Regions from separate parts of the Homo sapiens genome. Here region 1 is linked to region 2. The links are contacts of gene promoters, found by promoter capture Hi-C in blood cells and fetal thymus (Javierre and others, 2016). All regions are on one chromosome and are shown on one strand. Each heading gives the region's core, a stretch centred on a gene start or on the middle of the fragment in contact. The rest is flanking DNA. Distances are from core to core; before and after follow the strand shown. Region 1 overlaps WWOX (WW domain containing oxidoreductase). Region 2 holds the start of DYNLRB2 (dynein light chain roadblock-type 2).

Region 1 (6,792 bases), core at 4,123-6,622, 1.8 Mb before region 2:
GAGGCAGGAGAATCGCTTGAACCCAGGAGGCGGAGGTTGCAGTGAGCCGAGATCGTACCATTGCACTCCAGCCTGGGCAACAGGGAGAGATTCCATCTCAAAAAACAAACAAACAAACAAACAAAAACCCCAGATATTCCTTATTATGGAAGAAGAAGCAGGAAATATGTTTTTGAATAATCTGGGTCAGAGAATTGTGCATTTATTATTGCTAGGATGCATATACACATTGAACTCAGTCAACTTACTCTCTCTAAATTATCTCACCGGTGGAGACATTGCCTCAGGAGTCGAGCCCTGTGGTGTGCCTCCTGCTGTCACCACATTTGACCACCTAACTGACCCCACTGTGGTCACCTTTGCCACCTGCCCTGCTTTGGTCCCTTCTCTGCATTCGCCCCATGCCATGTAGCACTGCTGAGTTTGAAAATAATTGCATCTCCTGAAAACTCCATTTCTTAGAGAGTGAGCTCCAGCACCATCAGCCTGAAGTTGAAGAAATGGGACTCAGGAAGGCTGGAGTCTTCAGGCGTTCTTACAATGCTGATGCGACTCAGACGGCTGCCTGCACTGTCCTCTGTGCTTCTAAGTGAAATTACCCGTCGGGGGGCTCCTGAGAGTTAAATCAAGCAGCCTCTCTTGAAGCACAGTAAATGCTGACGTGATTTGTGAAGATGGCTCTGCTAATAGGGTTGGCAGCGTCCTTTGGCTTGGACCTTTGGACCCCGGCTGGCTGCGGAAGGGAGGGAAGGCAGCCTTGGAAAACTGATTTCCGTTGCCCTCTGACCATGAGAAGATCCCTGTTTAGGAGCTAGAATTCAGAGTTCCACGTGTAGAGGGGGATTCCACAGTGTGTGGTGTGCAGAGAGCACTCGTCTTTCAGGCATGGGGCGCCGTTTCATTTCTCCTAGTGCTGGAAGGGGACTTGGTGAAATTGATTTGGCAAAAAGGTTAATGTGTTGTTATGGCTGCCAGTTGGCCGATTGAAGCGCTAGTAATTGGGGCAAGGGAAGCATTCAATTTGACACACCAAATGCAGGTCCACCCTGGTGGATATCTTGGTTGCAGCACTCTGTGTGTGTACGTGTGTGCATGAGCGTGTCTTAGAGATGCTTTTGCTCCTCTTATAACTCCTATGATAAAAAGAGTTGCCATTATCATCCTTTGTCTACTCACCAGCCCCCACCAGAAACCCTCACAGAAAAAATAAGAGTTTATTTTTTCACTATGTCACATTGTTGGAGAACTGTGCAAATACAAGCCCTTCTCTTACAGGCCATGGGTCTCCTAAGTGGGATACACCACGATGATCCACTGGGGCAGTGGCCAGCAAAGTCCCTGTCCAGCCAGCCACTCGTTTTTATCAATAAATTTTTACTGAAACACAGTCATGCCTGTTAGGTTAGGAACTGCCTAGCGCCACTTCACACTGCAGTAGGAGAGTGAGTAGTTGTGACAGAGACCATTTATCCCACAAAGCCTAGAATCTTTATTATAATCCTGTAACAGAAAGCATTTACTGACTCCTTAGCATTGCCATGTTTAGCAAATAAAATTGCAGGATGCTGGTCAGGCGCGGTGGCTCACGCCTGTAATCCCAGCATTTTGGGAGGCCAAGGTGGGCAGATTACTTGAGGTCAGGAGATCGAGATCAGCCGGGCCAACCTGGTGAGATCCCATCTCTACTAATAATACAAAAAATAGCTGGCGTGGTGGCGCATGTCTGTAATTACAGTTACTCGGGAGGCTGAGGCAGGAGAATCACTTGAACCTGGGAGGCAGAGGTTGAAGTGACCCAAGATCACCACTGCACCCCAGCCTGGGCGACAGAGTGAGACTGTGTCTCAAAAACAAAATATCTGGCTGGGCACAGTGGCTCATGCCTGTAATCCCAGCACTTTGGGAGGCTGAGGTGGGTGGATCACTTGAGGTCAGGAGTTCAAGACCAGGCTGGCCAACATGGCAAAACCCTGTCTATACTAAAAATACAGAAATCAGTGGGGCATGGGGCGGGTGCTCTGTAGTCTCAGCTACTCAGGAGGCTGAGGCAGGAGAATTGCTTGAATCCAGGAGACGGAGGTTGCAGTGAGTTGAGACTGTGCCACTACACTCCAGCCTGGGCGGCAGAGTGAGACGCTGTCTCAAATAAATACATACATACAACATAAAGTAAGATGTTAAAGTAAATTTTAATTTTAGATAAACAATGGATAATTTTTTAGCAAAAGGATGTTCCACATTTAACTGGACATTATCTCTGTCTCTCTCCCTCCTTACCTGCCTCCTATCCTCTCTTCCCACCCCCTACGATGTCTATGTATAGTTTCAACCTGGCAACCCTGTGACCTCAGCACTAGGATATGGATAGAAAACATAGTAGCCCCTATTTACCTTTATCTTTTATCTCAACCCATTTAAATGTCTTTTCCTTGCAATGTTTTGTAATATTACATGTAGATTGTACATCGTTTGTCGATAAATCAGTGTACAAATACTAGGGGTGAGTGTGCTCAAAACTTATTTTTACTGATAATAGTCCATGATCAAGGCAGTTTGGAGACCACTCAGGACAGGGAAAACGCAGACTCATGTGACCCATCAGGGCTTCAGGGTGTCCTCTGGTGAAGGGCAGCAGCAGGACAGAGCCCCACTTCTAGCTCTGGCTCAGGTTAAGTGTTTCAGCGCCCTGGCTTCTGTGTCTTCATGTGCAAATGGAGATAATAGTCAGCACCTATGCAGGTTACTGTGAAAACAGGTTGGAAGTATTTATCTACAGCGTGGACCAGAGCCTCTGGTATGTACTAGGTGCCCTAGAAATGTTCTTTCCTCTGACTCAAATGACAAATCAGTTTCTAGGGAAAGGAACGCACAGCGATCCCCAGCGCATCACGAGAAATCTCTCTCCAGCTTTGCCCTGGCTGCGCTGGTGACTCACTCGGGGCTAAAACTGTTTATGTCTGCGGAGTCAGAGCGTTCTGCCCTGCGGTTTCAGTTCACATGGGGTTGGGCGACACAGTTTTGTTTTCACTTTGGTTTATCGTGTGAGTTTCCATCCATCAACTCTTTTGTATCTGATGTTCTTGGGAAACTTTGCGGGAATTCACTTGAAATTGTCCAGTGAACAGCCATTGCGAGTCTCATGGTCAGAGCCGGGGGCTTCCCAGTGTAGGGTCTGGTCAAGGAAAGGGCCACTTCCTGGGCCTCCCAAAAAGAGGAAGGAGAAGGCCCTGGCTTGTGGAAGAGTAAGAGGGGCCTCGTTAATGTCTCCCAAGCACAGTACCCCAACTCCCCACATACAGTCCCAACCCTTACTGCAGCCGGGAGGTTAGGTGTCTGCCGTGCTCATGAACAGGAAGTGAACCCGATCAGCCCCCGAAGGAAACATCCGTCTCTCTCCTTGGAGGAGACACTTGAGTGTCTTTCTCTGTGTGCTGCAGCCGTTATTGATATCAGTTCCCAGGCAAGGTTCATGCTGGCAGAGGAGGCCACTCTTTCTGCACTGGAGAGCAAAAGCCATCTTATCTCTCTGAGTGCAAGGTGACAGTGAGGAGATTGGCCCTGTGTATCCCTCAGAGACCAGTATTCCCTCATTTGCCAATCTAGAAAGAAGACTGTGTTTGCTGTCATTTGTTTCTTAACTCATTGATTCTCAAACAGAATCTTCCCAGGGATCTGCTTCATGCTGTATTTTGTACTGTGTCCTGAGATGATGAGGATTCGGTGTCTACCCTCAAGAAGCATCATTTAGAGAAGAAATTAGAAAAGTAAGTGAGGCAGGAGAACAGGATCTGGAGGCAGGGAATCTAAGGCTGATTCACGTTGACTTTGTATAATTAAATCAAAAGGAAAACACCAACTTTCCACAACTAAGTTATAAAAGGACCAGAGGCTACTCCCTCTGCAACCCCTCCCCACTTTTCTGAGTTGCAGATGGAAAATTGAAAGTACCCCTGATTGGTTGCTTTCCACGACCATTCAGCCGTTTGCATAGGAGCTGTAACTTTGTAACTTCGCTTCACCCTCTGATTGGTTGCTTTTCACAACCTATCAGACATTTGCATAGGAGTGTAACTTCTTTCCACAACCAATCTGACTGATTGTGGGCCATTACTTCATTTCCATGAGGTGTACACCAAGTGGCCAATGGGAGACCTCTATAGGGTATTTAAACCCCAGAAAATTCTTTAACCAGGCTCTTGAGCCTCTATGCTTGGGCTGCTCCCACCGTTTGGAGTGTACTTTCCTTTTCAGTAAATCTCTACTTTTGTTGTTTCATTCTTTCCTTGCTTTGTTTATGCGTTTTGTCCAATTCTTTATTCAAAACGCCAAGAACCTGGACGCCCTCCTCCAGTAACATAATGAATGTCTGGATGTGGTATGAAGAGTATTGGGGTACACCACAGCAGCGTGTGCTCTGAGAACACAGTAAACAGGCATTTGATACAGATCAGAAGGTCCGTAAAGGTGGTATTTGAACTAAGTTTTGAGAGCTGGGTAAGAGTTTGTGAAAAGACAGGGCTTAAGGAAGGATATAGTAAGCTGAAGGCACAGGACTTTAGAAACACATAGGCTATAACTGCAAGGTGTGTCTCAGAAGGTACATGTGACGTTTCATTTTTATTTGTTTGCTTTTTTATAGTGACTGCATGATCATTATATGCAGAAGACGCTTGAAGGGGCCAGATTAGGAAGGGCCCATGGTCCACACTGCTTTTTTTTTTTTTTTTTTTTTTTTTTTGAAACGGAGTATCTGTCTCTCACCCAGGCTGGAGTGCAGTGGCACAGTCTTGGCTCATTGCAACATCTGCCTCCTGGGTTCAAGCAATTTTCTTGCCTCAGCCTCCCGAGTAGCTGGGATTACAGGCACCTGCCACCACACCTGGCTAATTTTTGTATTTTTAGTAGAGATGAGGTTTCACCATGTTGGCCAGGCTAGTCTTGAATTCTTGACCTTAAGTGATCCACCTGCCTCGGCCTCCCAAAGTGCTGGGATTACAGGCGTGAGCCACTGTGTATTTCTATTACCAGCCTGCACTGCATTTCTATTACCCGAAAACAGTGTGGAAAATATTAATTACAAGGGAGATTAAAAAGTAAAACTGGTTGGTTGGCCTGAAGACCCACATGGTGACTTCACTAAAGTCATTGGGTAAGCAAAGAAGAGCAACACTCTAGTTTTCCTCCAAGCTTCAACGTTTTCTGTTTCCTCCTATGTCAGGTCTTAATTTCCCTACCTGATTCAGGCTGCGCTAAGCTGACTTCATCATGACTCCTGGCTTCCCCAGTCCCTGCTTCCCAGCACATACCATTTATTCAGTGTTGGCCAGTGACGCCTGCCACTGCATTTTATTGATGAAGAAATGGAGATCTCAAGAGGTAAAAAAAACTGACTATAGGAGCCAAGACTAGTTTAGAGTGGAGTTTGAATATGAACATGCCTCTGTCTGTGAAAGCCAGTGTCCCTTCAGCCAGGATCTTTCCTGGAAGAACTCAGTATTAAGGCACTTGATTAGTTCTTCCTGTTGGTGGACTGATTGATTACATTTGAATCTTTCAGCAAGCTTTTGGCTGAGCTGGGCATCTTCCCCGCCTTCCTCCACCTCTGCCTTCAAAAGCCTGAATTTCCAAGGCTTTCTGCCATGAGTACTTAGCTTTGAAAAACATGAGCATATTTTTCATTCTTCTTGCCGGCCTCTCCCTGTGTCATGCCTGTTATTCTTTTCTCCCTCAACATTGACCTAGGTCAGAAGGACCCTATTTTAATGTTTAGCGTTTGGGGGTCACTCCATAGAGAGGGGTTTGTGGAAATCCTTTTTTTTTTTTTTTTTTTTTTTGCTTCTTTCTGTGGATCTGTTTGGAAATGTAACATTTTAAAGCCCTTCTTGGCTGGAGGATTTTTTATGGTAAACATAAAACGTTCATTGAAACATTAAACATTTTACAGCTGTTTTTCAGCACATAAATTTTCATAGACATCCACCCCCTCACTGCCACACCCCCTCATAGATTTCTTCTTTTCCTCCTCCTTCTCCTCCTCCCTCTTCCTCCTCTTTTTCCCCCCCCTTCAAATAGTTCCAAGACCAGAGTTGAGGGTGGGTGGGTAGAGGGCTAGTTTACAGATAAAATGGTTGGTGTAGATCATCTAGTTTGGAAAAAGCACATTGTATTTTAATACTAGGAACGTGTGCATGCCAGAAACCTGCCAAGGAAAACACTCCCGCTGCTCCTTCCAGCCCTGACTCCAGCTGCTATGAACTGGAACCCTGCACCACGTCTCAGAAGGCTACTGGGAAGGGCCATAATCTGTATCCATCCACAAGGAGAGGTGGAGGGGGGCTACTCTAAGAAGCCAAAATGCTCAGGAAAGCCAGAGCTAAGATGGTGCAAACCAGCATGTGATTTGTCCAAGGACATCGTTTTGATATGATGAACCATGGGTGGTTTGGGCATTTGTCAAAGCAGGGTCAGCAGAAAGCTGACGTAGTTGGGTCTAAAGTACAACAGGACTGAGCATGGTGGCTCACACCTGTAATTCTAGTGCATTGGGAGGCCAAGGCAGGAGGATTGCTTGAGGCCAGGTGTTCAAGACCAGCCTTGGCAATATAGCAAGACATTGCCTGTACAAAAAATTTAAAAATTAGCTGGGAATGATGGTGCATGCCTGTAGTCTCAGCTACTTGGGAGGCTGAGGCAGGAGGATCAACTGAGCCCAGGAGTTTAAGGCTGCAGTGAGCCATGATCATGCCACTACACTCCAGTACACTCCAGGACTTTAGGCCTGCTAAAGTGCAT
Region 2 (6,430 bases), core at 3,162-5,661:
CAGCAGTAAAAGTATAAATAAATGTAGTGTTTTCTAAAAGTGAGCACTACACAGCAATAAAAATGAAGAAACCACAACTGCACACAACATAGATGGCTATCATACACACAATGCTGAGTAAAATTGTGCCCAAAACAAAAGATTACCTACGAGGTAATTCCATTTATGTAATTTTAAATGAAGCAAACTAAATTATACTGTTAGAAGTCAGACAACTAAATTTGCAGGCAGAGTGGGAATAATGATTGGGACTGGCCAAGTAGAAGTTTCTTGGGTGTGAACAGTGTTCTATTTATTTTAACCTGGTTTGGGGGCTTAGGTGTTCACTTCATGGTAACTCACCCCCTGTACATTTGTTTTGTGCACCTTACTTTTTTATGTGTTATACTTCCCAAAGTAATTTTGAAACTAAATAGATCAGAGACCTCAAGACTGGATTATCTGAGAAAAGGAGAGGTACATAAAGAGCATGACATTTTATTGCTCCCCTCAGGCCTTCCTTTCTTCTTCTTTGAACAAAGTTAATCGACCAGGAAATATTTACGGTTTACCCTCAACCATAAGATACTGAGAATACCTATGATGTGCAGTACACCAAGATGGGAACTGCTTGCTGGAGCTAGAAGTATAAAAATGGGAATTATGTTAAAATGGGATTAGAGGTAGATGAAACAGATGAAAGTTCTAAATTAATAACAGGTTGTCTACAAAGAGAAAGGGAAAGATGTTCTTTAGTGACAACGTCAACAATATGAATTACAGAAATTTTTCCTAGGGAGGGTAAGAAGGAAGAGAGGTTGAGGAGAGGATAGTGAAGAAGGGAGACAAGATGGAAATGGGGGAAGGAAATGGGGAGGAAAGGTTAGAGAAAAGATGAGAAGGAGGGAGAGAGGAGGGAAGGAATGCAGGGAAGGAGGAAAGATGGACCAAAGAAAAGACAGAAGAAAGAAACATGGTTAAATGATCCACACTGGTCACCTGGTATGAGCCAGACATTTCACCCACATAATATTTAAACCTCGCATCTCAACCTTCTAAGGTAGATACTATCTTTCTTACTTTATAAATGAAGAAGCTGATGCTGTTTTTTTTATTGAAGGAAATATGCCTAGAAATGTCAACCCCACATGCATACAACTCCAAATCCTGTGCTCTAGGAAAACACTTAATTTCAACAGGAAGGATTCCCTTATGGAAAGCAAATACTTCTATTACACTTAGGTCTTGAAAGGAGTCACCCCAGAGGGTGCCTTTGTCCTAAGAAGAAGAAAATGATTGATTTTCTGAAACTTAAAATCTATAATACTGCAATTCTATGACATTGGGTCAGTTTTAGGAAATACTTATTGATATTACTGGTATCTTCTAATTATGCCCTAGTATTAAGGAGTATTTTATTTTATTATTTTATTGTACTTTTTTTATTTGAGACAAGTCTCACTCTGTCACCCAGGCTAGTGAGAGTGGTGTAACTGTGGCTCACTGCAACCTCAAACTCCCAGCCTCAAGTGATCCTCTTGCCTCAGCCTCCCAAGTAGCTGGGAATACAGGCATATACCACCACGCCCAGCCTTTTTTTTTTTTTTTTTTTGATTTTTAGTAGAAATTATGTCTTGCTTTGTTGCCCAGGCTGTTCTCAAACTACCGGCCTTAAGCAATCCTCCTGCCTCAGCTCCCAAAACACTGGGGTTACAGATGAAAGCCACCATGCCTGGCCTGTGAACATGTTAGAAGAATGTAGTGTCTATTTTCTGGAGGGAAACCAGTAGAATACCAGGAGAAGTTCTGGTAAGTGACAAACAATGCCTTACCTTATGAGAAAATGGGCACAAAATTTATTCTACAGCCCAGTTCATAATATTTGCCAACTGCCAAGAATGCCAAAGATAGCTATATGGGTTGGTATAGAAAATACCAAAAAAAAAACTCAAGATCATTAAGTTATCTGGATTTCTTCAAGCTAACCAGAGAGCAGTAGCAAAGTATCAAACAGCAAGAGAGACTCCCAGAAGAAAATCATCTCCTTCTAACAAAATCATATGTGAAAAATAGTGGACTTGGTCTCTGCATGTATCACTTTTGGGGTTAAGTCAGAGTACTTGCAAAAACTATTATTCACTAATATTTTCACTTACGTTCAAAGTTATTTAGCACTTATTGTGAGTCAAAAAGAAAGGCCGAGGGGATGGGAGAAAGAGGAGAGGGTAAAAGGGGAATTCACATATATTGGGGATGGAGTAGGAAACATGTAAGACATTGCAAAGACACTTTATATAGCACAGCTCTGGATATTCATTACAGGTCCAAAAAAGGCATGAAAATTAAACCGAGCTACCTCCAAGGAATAATTAGAAGTGAAAAATTGATAAAGGGGAAATGGCTCAAGTTCTCCTCATTGATTTTCTGTGCACAGAGTCAAACTTGACTGTTGGTTGGAAGTCAGTTTGGCTACTTCTTATTTCTTTTTCAGCAGTTGGGTTCTCCCGTCAGTGCGTTTTATGCTAGAATCGTTCTTTGCTCTAATTACAGCTGTCAGCTATTGAATGAGCTTGACATCCTGACTCCAGAAACAAGGAAATTCACACTCCATGCATATGCAGTTGGTTCCTTCATTAAAGCTGATTGACATATCAGACATGGTGCACTGTCACTGATTTTTGTAAGAAAAACAAACGGCTACACAATCAAGTGGAATCTCCTTGATCAGAAACACCCAGAGAACCCAAGAATCACTCTTCATTCAACTCAGCCAGTATTTCTGTAAAGACCTATTATTTGTATTACTGCAAAATGGTAGCTATAGTCAATCAGGTAAGAGCCAGATCTGTACACACATGCATGCATACACACACAAGCACACAAATGCACACGCACACGCACACACCAGACTCAGACTCCTTCCCCACAGCTATAGCAGTCCTTTCCAAAGCAACTTTGTTGGAGTACCAGGTGTTGAGAGTCAAGCGGGATTCTTTGGCTAGTAATAGTGAACTGGCTGAGATATACAGATTTCTTGGAGGGAAAAAAAGGAGAGAACTACAGTGATCAGAATCACCCACACCTCAACAAAAATTAGAGCAGAACTACAGTTTCTCAGAGTATTTCTGTAGTTAATATAATAAAATGACAGATGTGGAGTTGAAATGGATCATCGAGTCCAAGCCTGCCAATGAGTTCAAAACTGTCCCAGAGCACCCCTAACATGGACCATTCAGAATCCAGTTGACATTCCTAGCACGATGTATGCCTTGTTCAGTGTGAGACTACTTTCTGGAAATGGATGCACAAACAGAATCGGTATTACAGGAAGTTGTTATGGCATGATCCCTATGAAGATGCATTCCCAACTTACAGCTTGTATTTTGTAATCAATATTTGTCCTCCTCTAACCTCAGGAAGTCATAACACGACTCCAGCCATAAAATTTTCCTGCTGTGCTTCGTCGTACAATAGTGGCTCTTTTCCTCCTAGGCTATAAGGATATTATCAATGTCCCTCAAAAGGTCAAGTGACTTCTGATCATTCCTAACTGATCTTTAACGTGTTTCCTCCAACAGTTCCTTAAACACCCAATGGAATGCTCTTCTATGGCAACGTATAGAACCTCCGGAACTACCATTTGCAATTTTTTAGTAACTCAGAACTGTTGATTTTTAAAATGGCAAAAATACAGATCCTAATGGATACTGACAACTAACAGAAATACTGACAAGTAGCAACTCTTCAATGGAGTTGAGAACAGGAAGAGGGTGCTATAACTAGGTGAGAACATAAAATGTGCAACTGTGCTTACTCTACTGATCTTAGAGTAGACAGATAGAAAGTAATTTTTTTAAGTACATAAGGTTGTACTATTTGATGCTCTGATATATTTTTCTTCAATATAAAAACTACTGGGAGGCGAGCGAACAGTATCTGCCCTGAACAGGGCAGTACTAATGGACGGTCACAGGCAGCTAAGACTATCACCAAACCCCTAGAGCAGCCCAACCCCGAAGTCAGATGGTCCTGTCCCCTCCTTACTTGCTCCAGGGCAAGTATCACACGTGGACATTACTGCTTCCGGTACTGTTTCGTGCATTTTGTTTGGTGCATTTTGTCCGTCTCCCTGGCACCTGGTGGGTGGTGAATCAGCAGTTTTTGAACGAATAAGTGGTTATCACATTAATTCGTGCCTCAATGAATGAATGAATGGACAAACACAGGCCGGGAGCCTGACCCACTTCCCTCTTCCCTCCCGGGACCCACTGCTCCAGGATTGGGCGAACCTCAGGTGAGCGCCTGCTCCCCTCTTCCGCGAACCTTCGCCTACGGCGGCCGGGAGGCATCAGGAGCGCGGTCAGGGCGAAAAAGCCGACTCGCGAGCGCGCAGGCGCAGCCCTGACGCTTCCGTGGGGCCACTTCCTTTTTTGTCTCCTAGCAACGGCGGGTAGCGTTGTTGACATCCCGGGAGGCTGTGCCGCCGGCCTGAGCCCAGAGTTTCGCGGCCTCCGCGATGGTAAATCTGGGGTCTCCGTCCACGCCCCGCCGTTCCAAGCACGCCGACCGTCAAGGACCTTCGCACCCAGCTTCTGGGGCCCACCCAGGCACGGGCGGTCCAGGGGCCGCGGCGGAGGCTGGTGGCTCCAGGATCTTCCTGGAGGGGCGAGAGGGAGACCTTGGAAAGGGGCAAGAAGATGTCTAGATGACTGGAAGCTGTTTTGGGAATTGATTTCGCGGGGATGGTACATAAGGAGGGGTGATGTTGAGAAAGGGAAGAGAGAGATTCAGAGGATGAAGAATGCTCAGGGGAGTGAGAAATCCGGGGAGCCAGGAAAGTTTCCAAAGAGGGGGCGGGAGGCCGAGATGGAGAGGAAAAAAAATCAGACCCTTAGAGAGAAGGAAGAGGTGGGACAGGGAAAGCAAGGGAATGGAAGGGTGAGAAGGGAAGATACTGAGAAAGAAGAAAGGGAAATAAAGAAAAAGGAAAGAAGTGATGGGAGACCCGCCCCCCTCCCCCCCAGAAAAAGAGGTAAGAAAAAAAAAAGTAGAGACTGTGGAAAGCAAAGGGCGTTAAGAGAAGAATGAAACGGGGATTGGAGATGGGGATTAAGAAATTATACTAGGAGCACTTACAAATCATGAGAAGAGAAACAACTGGGTGGAGAAATGGAAAGGCCAGGGAAAGAAAAGAAAGGAGTTTGGGAGATAAGTAAAGGGAGAAAGATAAATAAGGACACAGTGGCTGTAAGAAGCTGTGGACATCGTCTTAAAGATTGCCCAAAATGCAGTGAATTATTGATCCCCTGTTCAACGCTTACGGTTTAGTGTAGTGTTTCTCAAAGTCAGATGCAAACATTCGTTGCTACATAAGATGGCCGAGAAATGCTAAATAAGAGTGAATCACATCGTGAGAAAGTTATTCCTCTTCCATTTTGTTCAACCTTCAGACTACATACAGGAGAAAATTTCTGTTGCTATTAGGTCCTTAATACCACTGTCATTTGGAAATTTCCATTTTTTCATCCGAAGAGCAGGCCTCAGGCTCAGAGCTTTCATTGCAGTAGAATTTAATGATAGGCTCTCTCTTCATTTTGTTCATTTTGTTTGTTTTACAGTTATTTCTATTTATGAGGAATAACGTCAGGTTTCCATTTGTGGTAGTGACATACGATTTCCTCTTAAAATGCATTTATTTAAGCTTTTAGCAGTGAGATAATTTAAAGAACACCTAGATAAATAGTATACATGGCATTCATAATGGCAAGAATCATGAATCTAGTACACAAATGCCTAAAGTCAAGAAAACCTTGGCTCTGATGCTGAAATAGAGAAAATAAGTGCTCCTGCCCATACCAAGTACAAAGGAAAACTATCTTGAAGTAACAAAATGTTCACCTGTGCAATACTGAGGAAAAAAGAATATAGCAAACCCTCATCAAGAGAATTTGCAGAATTCAAAATATCCAGTGATTGCTCAGTCATGAAAAATTTGCAGGTTTGGAAAAGATCGTTCTTGTCTTTGAGTTTTCTACAGGGGAAGAAAACATACAATACACTCTACACATAAGATTCCGAATGAGTTTAAAACACAATAATAGATTCCAGAATAATCACTCATAGTTGAACATTCAGCTTGCACTGAGACGCAAGCTATAGTTATCAAGAAAATCCTAGAATCCTGGAATACTTTGTTTTTATAGACTATCCTTTAAATTTAATCATCCGAACTGATTAGGTCACATTAATGAAAATAAGATTTCTCAATAAGGACTACTTTTAGACAGAGGGAGGCCATGATATAGCTCTATAAATATTTAAAGCACTGTAATGTAGAAAAGGAATTTTCATTTGAATACAGCAGGGTCAATGAATGAAAGATAATCTGGGACAAATTTCCATGCAATGTAAAGAATACTTTTCTAGTAAATGGAAACAGATAAAAATGGAG

Evidence for each region. Contacts are between HindIII fragments. The CHiCAGO score rates a contact against its expected background, and 5 or more counts as called.
Region 1: a fragment that was not itself captured here is called in contact with the fragment with the promoter of DYNLRB2 in region 2 in 1 of 17 cell types (total B cells); the score reaches 6.9 in total B cells.

What each region holds. Positions count from the first base shown.
Region 1 is chr16:78,739,712-78,746,503 of GRCh38, forward strand. The region is part of intron 8 of WWOX (WW domain containing oxidoreductase); the gene reads left to right. Among named protein-coding and RNA genes, the nearest start is that of WWOX-AS2, 240 kb to the left of the region's middle. RefSeq lists an enhancer at 3,055-3,314. The HindIII fragment of the contact is 374 bases long and covers 5,186-5,559 here.
Region 2 is chr16:80,536,582-80,543,011 of GRCh38, forward strand. It overlaps DYNLRB2 (dynein light chain roadblock-type 2), which reads left to right and starts at 4,412. Exons shown (of 4, transcript NM_130897.3): 1 at 4,412-4,498. The coding sequence starts at 4,496. All of the region lies in intron 1 of DYNLRB2-AS1 (DYNLRB2 antisense RNA 1), which reads right to left. RefSeq lists an enhancer at 4,463-4,552. The HindIII fragment of the contact is 6,420 bases long and covers 1-5,678 here.